2 separate regions of the Homo sapiens genome follow, and region 2 is linked to region 1. The links are contacts of gene promoters, found by promoter capture Hi-C in human tissues and cell types (Jung and others, 2019). All regions are on one chromosome and are shown on one strand. Each heading gives the region's core, a stretch centred on a gene start or on the middle of the fragment in contact. The rest is flanking DNA. Distances are from core to core; before and after follow the strand shown.

Region 1 (5,587 bases), core at 607-3,106:
AATCGGAGGTGACAAGCCAAGGGTCGAGCAGGCCACATCTGGCCCTCAAGGATGCGTAATCATGAAACTTTGCAGAACTTCTCTAGAACAATCAGAAGTTCTGACCCCATTGGGCCTGTCTTCCCCCACGTGGAGCTGGGTCGTGGCTGTCCTCTTCAGCTGGGACACATGCTCTCGGGTCAGCCTCAGCTCCACCTGCCCGGCTTCACTCACTACCACGCCTCTTCTGTAGACACCCTGCACATGGCTAAGGCTCCCCAGACATTCCCAAGAAGTCAGGACTGGACCCCAGGTTGGCGAAGCAGTGCACCCTCGGTGGCACCCCACTGCCTTTCCTGGTGCTGTGGCCTCTGCTGCAGATCACAGATTCATGGCCTTCTGTCTGTCCCTCTTCTCCAATCCCAGCTGTTCCTTCTGTAAATCTGTCCCCCAGGGCAGGTCCCTCCCCCAAAGGCCCCATTCATACTGGTGTTGGTCAGTCACCCAGTGTTTGCTCACCCAGGCCACCCTTTATCCAGTCAAGCCACCCTCCACTGCTCCTGCAGGACTCTAGAGCCAGGTGGCCTGGGCTGAAATCTTGCTGTGTCACTTACAACCCGGGTGATCCTGGGCCGATGACTCATCTCCTCTACCTCTGTTACCTCGTCAGTAAGATAGAGATAACAGGACCTAACTTCGAGGGTTGTTGGAAAGACCAAGTGAGTAAAGGCATGTTGTGCCCTTAGAGCCTGGCACGTGTTCATCACTGCTATTATTTCTGGCTACTCGGTGCCAGGACAGGGGCCTCAGCTGAGGGCCCCCCAGAGCCTGGCAGGCCCAGTGAAGGAGTGAGATGGGGAGGCCACGACTCCTCCCCAGTCAGCAGCTGTCCTGTGGCCATGGGGGCCTGGTGAGGCCAGATCTTCAGGTTGTTCTAGAAAAGTGAGTATTCTAGAATTATGTTTCAAGCCTCTTGGTTTGCAAATACTAGTAACTATTTTTAAAATGTTTTGGTATTTGGCCTGGCACAGTGTTTGACCCCTGTAATCCCAGCACTTTGGGAGGCCAAGGTGGGAGGATCACTTAAACCCAGGAGTTGGAGACCAGCCTGGGCAACATAGCAAGATTCTCTCTCTACCAAAAAAATGAAAAAATTAGCTGGGTGTGGTGGTGCACGCCTGTAGTCCCAGCTACTCGGGAGGCTGTGGTGGGAGGATCACTTGAGCCCAGGAGGATGAGCCTGCAGCAAGCTGTGATGCCACCACTGCACTCCAGCCTGGGTGACAGAGTGAGATCCTGTCTCAGAAATAAAAAGTAAATAAAGTTTTGGATGCTTTGAGCATCTGGCAGAAATCTTCGCTATGCCCCGCTGATGTCCTGGGCCCGATGTGGGCGCCTGGCCATGGCTCGGTCACTCCTGACGGTTTTTCAGGGCCTCAGACACCTCTTCTTCTTCTTCTTCTTCTTTTTTTGAGACTGATTTTCGCTCTTGTTGCCCAGGCTGGAGTGCAATGGTGTAATCTCGGCTCACCACAACCTCCGCCTCCCGGATTCAAGTGATTCTCCTGCCTCAGCCTCCCGAGTAGCTGGGACCACAGGCATGCACCACCATACCCGGCTAACTTTGTATTTTTAGTAGAGATGGGGTTTCTCCATGTTGGTCAGGCTGGTCTCGAACTCTCGACTTCAGGCAGACACCTGTTCTTTGCCATGCCTCTGTCTGAAGAGTATATGGAAAGGGGTTGCACAAGCAATGGTTGCTGTTCCTGTTGCTGCCACTGCGGTGAGGGCTGTGGCTGGACGTCCCTCCTGGCACTTTGCCTCTGTCCCCTCCATCCGCCGCCAGCATTTTTCCTCCCCTCCCCTTCCTCCAGCTCGTCCCAAGCCTGCCTGTCCCCAGCGTGGAGGCGGGACAGTGGAAGACTGGGTGAGTGAAGCAGGATGGTGCCTTGGGCTCCAGCGTCTCCCCAACCCCTCCATGCCATGGGTCCCCACGCAGGTGAGGACCCTGGTGGAGGACGGTGTGGGCAGAGCGTGGGACATGTCACCTTCCCCACCTGCTCAGAGTTCAAGGGTCCTGGGCTGGGCCCCGTTCTCTCTTCTGCCCTGGGGAGATCATTCACGCTTCCTTTAATCCCCGCTGCAGCTGAGGCTGGAGTTTGGAGTTTGACCCGCTTGGAGGCTCTCTCAGCAGCGGGCATATAGGAGGAAGGGTCACTGCTGTCTCCGGAAGCTCTTGGCTGCAAAGAGAGAGGATCCCGGGTATCTCCCTCCTTACAACCACCGCCACCTCCTAGTGCCTTAGAAGCCACTGACAGCCCCCAGGGCAGGTGAGCCCTGCATCTGGAATAAGGTAAGACACCCCCTGCCCCCAAACAGGTAGCCACTCTCCAAACTGGGAAGTTGGTCTGGGGACAGGTGCTGGCAGAAGGACTCCAGCTGTCACCTGTGGGGCAGGGGAAGCTCAGCCCTCTCTGCAGAGAAAGCTTGTCATACACCAGGACAATGGAGTGTGTTTGTGGGGTGGGCATGGTGGTATGAAGCCAGCAGCCGGCAGCCAGCAGCACCGTACGTGGGTCCCAGCTCTTCCACTTAACCAAGGTCAGGGACATTGAGCCAAACATTTTGCCTCACCGAGTCTCAGGTTCCTTATCTGTCAAATGGGAATATGAACCTCAGGCTGACCCACCCCACAGGTGTGTTACCCAGAGATAACGAAGGTAAATGTATCCACATAAGCATTAAAAAGCTATAGGAATGTATTTACTACAACTGCAGCTGCTGTTAACTACAAGGCAAATACAAGTCTTCACTGGTACGTGTCAGACACGTGCAGAGAACTTTACGCCTGGATCTCATCTAACTGACACAGAAACCCTGTAAGGTAGGTACAGCACCCCCTAATTCATGGACAGAGTCTAAGGGTCATTAAATAACTTGCTCAAGGTAATACAGATAGTGAGTGGCCAAGCCAAGACTCAATTCCTGTGGCCATGAGCTCAGCCACAATATCAGTGATTTTCTTTTTCTTTCCTTTCTTTCTTTTTCTCTTTCTTTCTTTTTCTTTCTTTTCCTTTCTTTTCTTTGTTCTTTCTTTCTTTCCTTCTTTCTTTTATTTCTTTCCTTATTCCTTTCTTTCCCTTTCTTTCTCCTTCCTTCTTTCCTTCCTTCCCTCCCTCCCACCTCTCTGTTTCTCTTTCTTTTCCCTTTTTTCTTTCTTTCTTTCTTTCTTCTCTCTCTTTTATTATTTATTTCTTCCTTTCTTTCCCTTTCTCCTTCCTTCTTTCCTTCTTTGCCTCCTCTCTCTCTCTGTGTGTGTTTTCTGTTCTCTCTCTCTCTCGTTTCTTTTCTGTCTTTTCTTTCACAGGGTCTCTCTGTGTTGCCCAGGCTGAAATGTAGTACTATCATAGCTCACCAGCATGCCCTGCTAACTTTTTTATTTTTATTTTTTGTACAAATGGGGTCTCCCTGTGTTGCCTTGGCTGGTCTCAATCTCCTGAACTCAAGCGATTCTCCCGCCTCAGCCTTGCAAAGTGCTGGGATTACAGGCATGAGCCACTGCACCCTACCAATCAGTGGTTTTCAAATGGTGTTCTGCTGAATTATTCTGGGCAATAGTTGACAGAAGTGTCCTAGCCCATTGGGCATCCTGCAGATAGGACTTGGAAAAATGCTGTCCCTTTTTTGGGCGGTCACAGCGTGCAAAGGATCTATAGCAAAGGCTCTAAAAATCCCACATTTATTTGTTGTACCAACATTTATTGCATGCCTGTTTTGGGGACACAATGAGAGTGACAGAGACATGGACCTTTCTTTATGGGGCTTGCTGTGCAGTGCAGACAAGGGGTAATCACACACATCAAGTGTTACACTTGATTAGACTGTGATGAGAAGTTGTGTTTGCCATGAAAGCAAAAAGCTTGGGGACCCAATTTATATTGAGGCCAAGAGGGGGCTCCTTTGGGGATATACAGCAGGCTGACATCTAAAGGATGAGTAGGAGCTTGTCCAGCAAAGAGTGCAGGGAAGAGCATCCCAGGCAGAGGGAACAGAATGGCAAAGACCCTGAGGCCAGAAATCGTGTTCCAGGAATAAAATGAATGCTAGTATGTGGTGGGGTTGGAAGCACAACAAAGCACCCCAGCAGCATGGAGATGTTTTGAGCAGGAAAATGATCTGATCTGACTCATACTTAAAGATTTCTCTGGCTTCCGTGTGAGGGGCGGATTAAAAGGAAGCAAGGCTGGGTGAGGTGGCTCATGCCTGCAACCTCAGTGCTTTGGGAGGCCAAGTTGGGAGGATTGCTTGAGGCCTGGAGTTTGAGACCCGTCTGGGCAACATAGCAAGACCCCGTCTCTACAAAAAAATTACAAAATAAGAAGTTAGCTGGAGGCCAGGCATGGTGGCTCACACCTGTAATCCCAGCACTGTGCAGGGATCATTTGAGCCCATGGGGTTGAGGCTGCAGGAGCTGTGTTTGTGTCACTGCACTTTAGCCCAGGCAACAGAGTGAAACCCTGTCTCAAAAAATAAAAAATTAGCTAGGCATGTTGGCATGTACCTGTGGTCCCACCTACTTGGGAGACGGAGGTGGGAGGATCCCTTGAGCACAGATGTTCGAGAGTTTGAGGCCACAGTGAGCTCTGATGGCACCATTGCACTGCGGCTTGGTCAAGGGAACAAGACCCTGTCTCTAAAAATTAAGTAAATTAAAACAAAAATAAAATAATAAAATAAAAAGGAAGGAAGAATGGATATCGGGGAGGTAAGACTGGAGGGTCTTTCTCTAACCTAGACAGAAGTGATGGTGGCTCAGACAAGGGTGATAGCACTAAAAATGAGGGAAAATGTGTGGATTTATTATGTTTTGGAAGTAAGAGAGAATGGAATTGGGAGTGAATAGATTCTGGGAGGTGAGAAAGAGATGCTATAAATTCTTCGATGAGACATTTACATACCAGGCACTCTTGGTGCTTAGATGTAGTGCCTGGCACATAGAGGTGCTCACAGACCACTTGATAAGTGAACAAATGGACTAATGCCTTATAGATGACTCAGGTTTCTGGCAGGAGTGGCAGAGTGGCTGCAGCTGTCATTTAGTGAGGTGGGGAAGACTGGAAGAAGCACGTGCTTGGGCTGGAAAGCTTGGTCTGTAACTCGCACGTGTGAACTTTCAGACATCTATTAAGTAACAATGAGAAGCCGGGCACGGTGGCTCACGCCTGTAATCCCAGCACTTTGGGAGGCCGAGGCGGGTGGATCACCCGAGGTCAGGAGTTCAAGACAAGCTGGGCAACATGGTGAAACCCCATCTCTACTAAAAACACAAAAATTAGCCAGGCGTGGTGACACATGCCTGTAATCCCAGCTACTCGGGAGGCTGAGGCGGGAGAATCGCTTGAACCCGGGAGGCAGAGGTTGCAGTGAGCAGAGATTGCACCACTGCACTCCAGCCTGGGTAACAGAGCGAGACTCTGCCTTGGGGGCAAAAAAAAAAAAAAAAAAAAAATATATATATATATATATATATATATATATCCATGAGAGATGCCACGTTGGCATTTGGATGGACAGGTCTGGGCTCAGAAGGTGCTCTGTGATGTCTATT
Region 2 (6,046 bases), core at 2,549-5,048, 330 kb after region 1:
GGCGTTTGTCTTTTCCATCCACTTACAACCAGGTTCACTGGATGTTAAACGCACAGATCAGTACATCTTGCTTACAAACCCATGCAGCTAGGGGCTGAATTTTCCCTCTTCTCATTAAGGTGCACATGCCTGTCTGTGGCCGAGTAGGGCCACGGAGAACAGGCGTGGATCTATCTCTGTTTCTTGTTACCTTTGTCCTGGTCCAGCTCCTTTTCAGCTGCCCCCTGCTGGGCTTGCCTCCCCCAGTGGTTAGGCTTTGAGTGTCTCTCCAGCCCGATGGAGGCCACTTTAGATCCCAGTTCCGGCCTTCAGTGGAATAGCTGCCCTTCAAGCTTCCCGCAGATGTAATCCACATGACATGTGGTCACAAGCGGGCAGCTGATCCGAAACAGAACTTGACAGAGGCAAGGACCATTCCCTATGCAAAAATTCCAGGTTGACATGAGACTGATAATCAGCCCCTTTGGACCTGTCATTCCACACAGATTTGCCTAGCTATGCAGCTCAGCCCACACAATCCTTTCACATTTGTTTTGTTTGGTTTTGGTTTTTGTTTTTTTTTGGCTTTTTTTTTTTTTTTTTTTTTTTTTTTTTTGAGATGGAGTCTTGCTCATTGTCCAGGCTGGAGTGCAGTAGCATGATCTCGTCTCACTGCAACCTCCGCCTCCTGGGTTCAAGTGATTCTCCTGCCTCAGCCTCCTGAGTAGCTGGGATTACAGGCGTCCACCACCATGTCCAGCTAATTTCTGTATTTTTGGTAGAGATGGGGTTTCACCATGTTGGCCAGGCTGGTCTCGAACTCCTGACCTTAAGTGATCTGCCTGGCTCGGCCCCCCAAAGTGCTGGGATTATAGGCATGAGCCATTGTGCCTGGCCTTCACATTCCTTTTGGATTTAAAGTCATTTATTGTGAATTGAGCGCAGTGGCTCATGCCTGTAATCCCAGCACTTTGGGAGGCTAAGGCAGGCAGATCACCTGAGGTCAGGAGTTCGAAACCAGCCTGGCCAACATGGTGAAATCCCGTCTCTACTAAAAATACAAAATTTAGCTGGGCGTGGTGGCACATGCCTGTAGTCCCAGCTACTTGGGAGGCTGAGGCAGGAGAATCTCTTGAACCCGGGAGGCAGAAGTTGCAGTGAGCTGAGATGGCACCACTGTACTCCAGCCTGGGCAACAGAGCGCGACTCTGTCTCCAGAAAAAAAAAAAAGTCACTTATTGGGGTATTTGTATGTTATCCTCCTCTTAATTATATTAAAAAATACTTCTTAGTAGGAAACTTAAAAGCTTCTAAAAAGTATGACTAAGAAAATCCACCTGTATGCCTGTCAGTCAGAGATGACCTCTTGTGACTTTTCCCTTCCCCTCTATTTCTAAATAGTGTTTTGTTTGTTTTTATAATAAGAGTTGAATTTTTATATTTATGCAACTTTGATTTCAAGTGTTTTCAATTTAATGTTATAACATTAGCATTTCCCCCTGGCAATTAAAAATGCTCAATGAGCATAATTGTAATGGCTTTATAATATTGTATTATGTCACTATGGCTGAATTAATATTTCCATATTTTTGGAAATGTAGGTTATTTGTAATACTTTTAAGTGAACTCTAGTTCTCACAAAGGAACAATATATTGAGCATTTTAATGTCAGGAATTTACTTTGTCCCCACTGACCCGTGACTGCTTTGGGACATCAGTGCTTGTCTGTGTGTGTGGAAGATCCGTATCTGCCTTTGCTCAAAGTTCAGCACATAAAGGGTAGATTTTTGGCGTTAACTGCAGACAGTCCATAAACTGTTATAATGTTTTCTTAATCATTTTAAAACCACCCATAAACACAGTCTTACCCAACCTTTTGTTTCCTTGCGAAACCTCATTTTATGTAGCAGGAGGGCGGTGCTACAGTGGTCAGCAGTGTGGCTGGTGCCCCTGAGCCGGTCACTGGGGGTCCTCTAGGGGCCTCTGCTCCTGGCCACCAGAGTCTCCTAATGGTGTCTGTGTGTCTCTCCCCTCAGGGCTGAAGGAGATAACTTATTAATCTGTCGAAGGCTTATGCCGAGCCAGAAGCCGAAGCCACTTGCCCTCCTGGAGGAGACCTGCAAGCTCCCTGAGCGGTGGGCGGGCCTCGTCCGCAGGTCTCATCCCACACTCTTGAGAAGCCTTGGTCACTACAGTGGTCGCACATGTTCCTCTTCCTGTTCCTGTTGACATGTCGTTGTTTAAATAAATCTCACTTGCCACCAGTCGCCTGTGGTTGGACCTCTGCTGGCTGCCGCTGCTCGTTCCGTGCCCCATGGCTTGGGCGGGCCAGGGTTCACCTCTGTGTTAGCTAAAGCCAAGGACCCCAAGTCTGCTTTGACCTTGGCTTACTCCCTGTGAGTCACACCCGGCCCATGACCTTGAGTCCATTTTAGGATCTACTCCCTCACATGCTGTTTGTTGCAGCACATGACATTGTGCCTCACTCCCTGACCCTTGTCCTCCACCAGATGTGAGGCTAGTGCTCTTCTCGGGCTCCTGTCTCCGCCCTGGCCACACTGGCCTGCTCAGTTGCCTCCTTCATCTTGGTCATGGTGGCAGGCTGAAGAATGGCCCCTAAAGTGTCCATGTCCTGATCCCCAGAACCTGTGAGTGTGTGTTACCTTCTGTGGCAAAGGGGCTTTGCAAATGGGATTAGGGGTTTGAGATGAAGAGGTGGTCCTGGGTTATCCAGGTGGGCCTGATAGGATCACGGGGTCCTCATTAGAGGGACAGACGAGGCGTCAGAGTCAGAGGGGCCCAGACAAGAAGCAGGGGCAACCAGGGGATGCTACCTAGGGCAATAGCAGCAGACCCTCCCTTGGCCTCCAGCTGGAACTGCCTGCCAACACCTTGATGTTAGCCCAGAGAAATCGATTTCAGATTTCTCACCTCCAGAGCCGTAAGAGAATACATCTGTGGTGGTGGTTTTTTTTTTTTTTTTTTCTTTTTTTTAGATGGAGTCTTGCTCTGTTGCCCAGGCTTGGAGTGCAGTGGCGCGATCTCGGCTCACTGCACCCTCTGCCTCCCGGGTTCAAGTGATTCTTCCGCCTCAGCCTCCCAAGTAGCTGGGATTACAGGTGCATACCATCATGCCTGTCTAATTTTTGTATTTTTAGTGGAGATAGAGTTTCACCATGTTGGCCAGGCTGGTCACGAACTCCTGACCTCAAGTGATCCGCCCGTCTTGGCCTCCCAAAGTGCTGGGATTACAGGCATGAGCCTCTGTGCCCAGACTGATCTGTGGTGTTTTGAGCCACCAAGTTGGGGGCTTAAACTTACAGCCACAACTAGAAGTCAATGCAGTTATGAGACAGGTTCATAGGGCCCCTGAGTGATGACCTCATATTTCAGAAACATAAGGCTTGTCCCATACCTGTCTGCTGAACTCCCTGAGTGATGGGTAGACCTTGTCTACAGGGACTTCTTAAGTTATGTGACTGGCGCTGCGAGCCTGAACCTGCATGTGCAGGGTGGCACTGCAGAAGTCCCCAGCGCTCTCCTCTGCTGGAGAGGTAACAGCCTCTCTTCTACCATTCAGAATCCTTAAATCAGTGTCCCCTAGAGTGTGGGCCCTGCACCTCTAGTGGCATGCCAGTTGATGGGATGTGTTCCTATCAATAAATACCTGTGATAAAATGTATAAATTAGGTGCAGTAAGACTAGCAACAATTTAAAAAAGAACAACTATAGCAATATGTTAAGGTTATGTGAATGTGGTCTTTGAAGATATCTTAACTGGCCGAGTGCAGTGGTGCACGCCTGTAATCCCAGCACTTGGGGAGGCCAAGACAGGTGGATCCTGAAGTCAGGAGTTCGAGACCAGCCTGGCCAACATGGTGAAACCCCCCCCCCACCGCCCCGCCGCCTGTAATTCCAGCTCTTTGGGGGGCTGAGATGGGCAGATCACAAGGTCAGGAGTTCAAGACCAGCCTGGCCAACATGGTGAAACCCTGTCTCTACTAAAAATACAAAAAAAAAAAAAAAAAAATCCGGGCTTGGTGGCAGGCATCTGTAAGGCAGGAGAATTGCTTGAACCCAGGAGGCAGAGGTTGCAGTGAACCGAGATTGCGCCACTGCACTCCAGCCTGGATGACAGAGCAAGACTCCATCTTGGAAAAAAAGAAAATATCTTAGCTATACTCACTTATTTTTGGACCTCAACTGACCTCAGGTAACGGAAACCTTGGAAAACAAAACCACAGGAAAGGGGTAACTCTGGTATATGTATAGCATTAGCAGAAACAATGTTTACTTTTTTTATTGAGACGGAGTCTTGCTCTGTCACCTAGCCTGGAGTGCAGTGGCGCGATCTCAGCTCACTGCAAGCTCCACCTCCCGGATTCACGCCATTCTCCTGCCCCAGCTTCCCAAGTAGCTGGGACTACAGGAGCCCGCCACCATGCCCAGCTAATTTTTTTTGTGTTTTTAGTAGAGATGGAGTTTCACCACGTTAGGCAGGATGGTCTCTATCTCCTGACCTCGTGATCCACCTGCCTCGGCCTCCCAAAGTGCTGGGATTACAGGCGTGAGCCGCCGTGCCTGGCCCCACAATGTTTACTTTTTGTTGTTGTTGTTTTCAGAAAGGGTCTTGCCCCATCTCCCAGGCTGGAGTGCAGTAGTGCAGTCATAGCTCTCTGCAGCCTCAACCTCCTTGGGCTCAAGTGATCCTCCTTCCTCAGCCTCCTGAGTAACTGAACCACAGGCACACACCAGCAAGCCTGGCTATTTTTAACTTTTTTTGTGGAGACAGGGTCTCCCTATGTTGCCAGGGGTGGTCTTGAACTCGGGTTCAAGTGATCCTCCCATCCGTCCTATTCCAAATTTGATATTGAAATTAGGCCAGTTAATAACCCTACAATGGCCTCTACATGCTCAAGTGAAAGGAAGAGTCACAAAGAGTCACATGCCTTTCACTTTAAATCAAAGCTGGAAATGATTAAGCTTGGTGAGGAAGGCACGTCAAAAGCTGAAATAGGGTCGGCTGTGGTGGCTCATGCCTGTAATCCCAGCACTTTGGGAGGCCGAGGTGGGCGGATCACCTGAGGTCAGGAGTTTGAGACCAGCCTGGCCAACATAGTGAAACCTCATCTCTACTAAAAGTACAAAAATTAGCCTGGTGTGGTGGCAGGCGCCTGTAGTCCCAGCTACTTGGGAGTTTGAGGCAGGAGAATCGCTTGAACCTGGGAGGCAGAGGTTGCAGTGAGCGAAGATGGCACCACTGCACTCCAGCCTGGGTGACAGAGTGAGACTCCATCTGAAAAAAAAAAAAAAAAAAAAAAAAACTGAAATAGGCCGAAAGCTAGACCTCTTGTGCCAAACAGCCAAGTTGTGAATGCAAAGGAAAAGTTCTTGGAGGAAATGAAAAAGTGCTACTCCAGTGAACACATGAATGATAAGAAAGCGAAACTGTATTATTACCGATATGGAGAAAGTTTGAGCGGTCTGTATAGAAGATCAAACCAGCCACAACCTTCCCTTAAGCCAAAGCCTAATCGAGAGCAGGGCCCTAACTCTCTTCAATTATGTGATGGCTGAGAGAGGAGAGGAAGCTGCAGAAGAAAAGTTGGAAGCTAGCAGAGGTTGGTTCCTGAGGTTTAAGGAAAGAAGCCGTCTCCATAACATAAAAGTGCAAGGTGAAGCAGCAGGTGCTGATGGAGAAACTGAAGCAAGTTGTCCAGAAGATCCAGCTGAGATCATTGATGAAGGAAGGTGGCTACACTAAACAACAGATTTTCAATGTAGGCAAAACAGCTTTCTCTTGCAAGAGGATGCCATCTAGGACTTCCAAAGCTAGAGAGGAGAATTCAATGCCTGGCTTCAAAACTTCATAGGAAAGCCTGACTTCTTAGTGTCTAGTATGAAATGCAGCTGGTGACATTAAGTTAAGGTCAGTGCTTATTTACCATTCTGAAAATCCTAGGGCCCTTAAGAATTATGCTAAATCCACTGGGTGCAGTGGGTCATGCCAAGGCAGGCGGATTGCTTGAGGCCAGGAGTTCGAAACTAGCCGAGCCAACATGGTGAA

What was found. The method cuts DNA at HindIII sites, captures the fragments that hold promoters and counts their contacts. A contact is called where the count stands out against the background at its distance.
Region 2: a contact is called between a fragment that was not itself captured here and the fragment with the promoter of SLC5A11 in region 1, in 2 of the 25 tissues and cell types used here (heart right ventricle and spleen).

The regions. Positions count from the first base shown.
Region 1 is chr16:24,844,107-24,849,693 of GRCh38, forward strand. It overlaps SLC5A11 (solute carrier family 5 member 11), which reads left to right and starts at 1,857. Exons shown (of 17, transcript NM_001352248.3): 1 at 1,857-1,906; 2 at 2,126-2,332. The HindIII fragment of the contact is 12,271 bases long and covers 1-3,181 here.
Region 2 is chr16:25,175,986-25,182,031 of GRCh38, forward strand. LCMT1 (leucine carboxyl methyltransferase 1) reads left to right here. Exons shown (of 11, transcript NM_016309.3): 11 at 2,016-2,243. The coding sequence ends at 2,038. Among named protein-coding and RNA genes, the nearest start is that of LCMT1-AS2, 30 kb to the left of the region's middle. The HindIII fragment of the contact is 5,979 bases long and covers 810-6,046 here.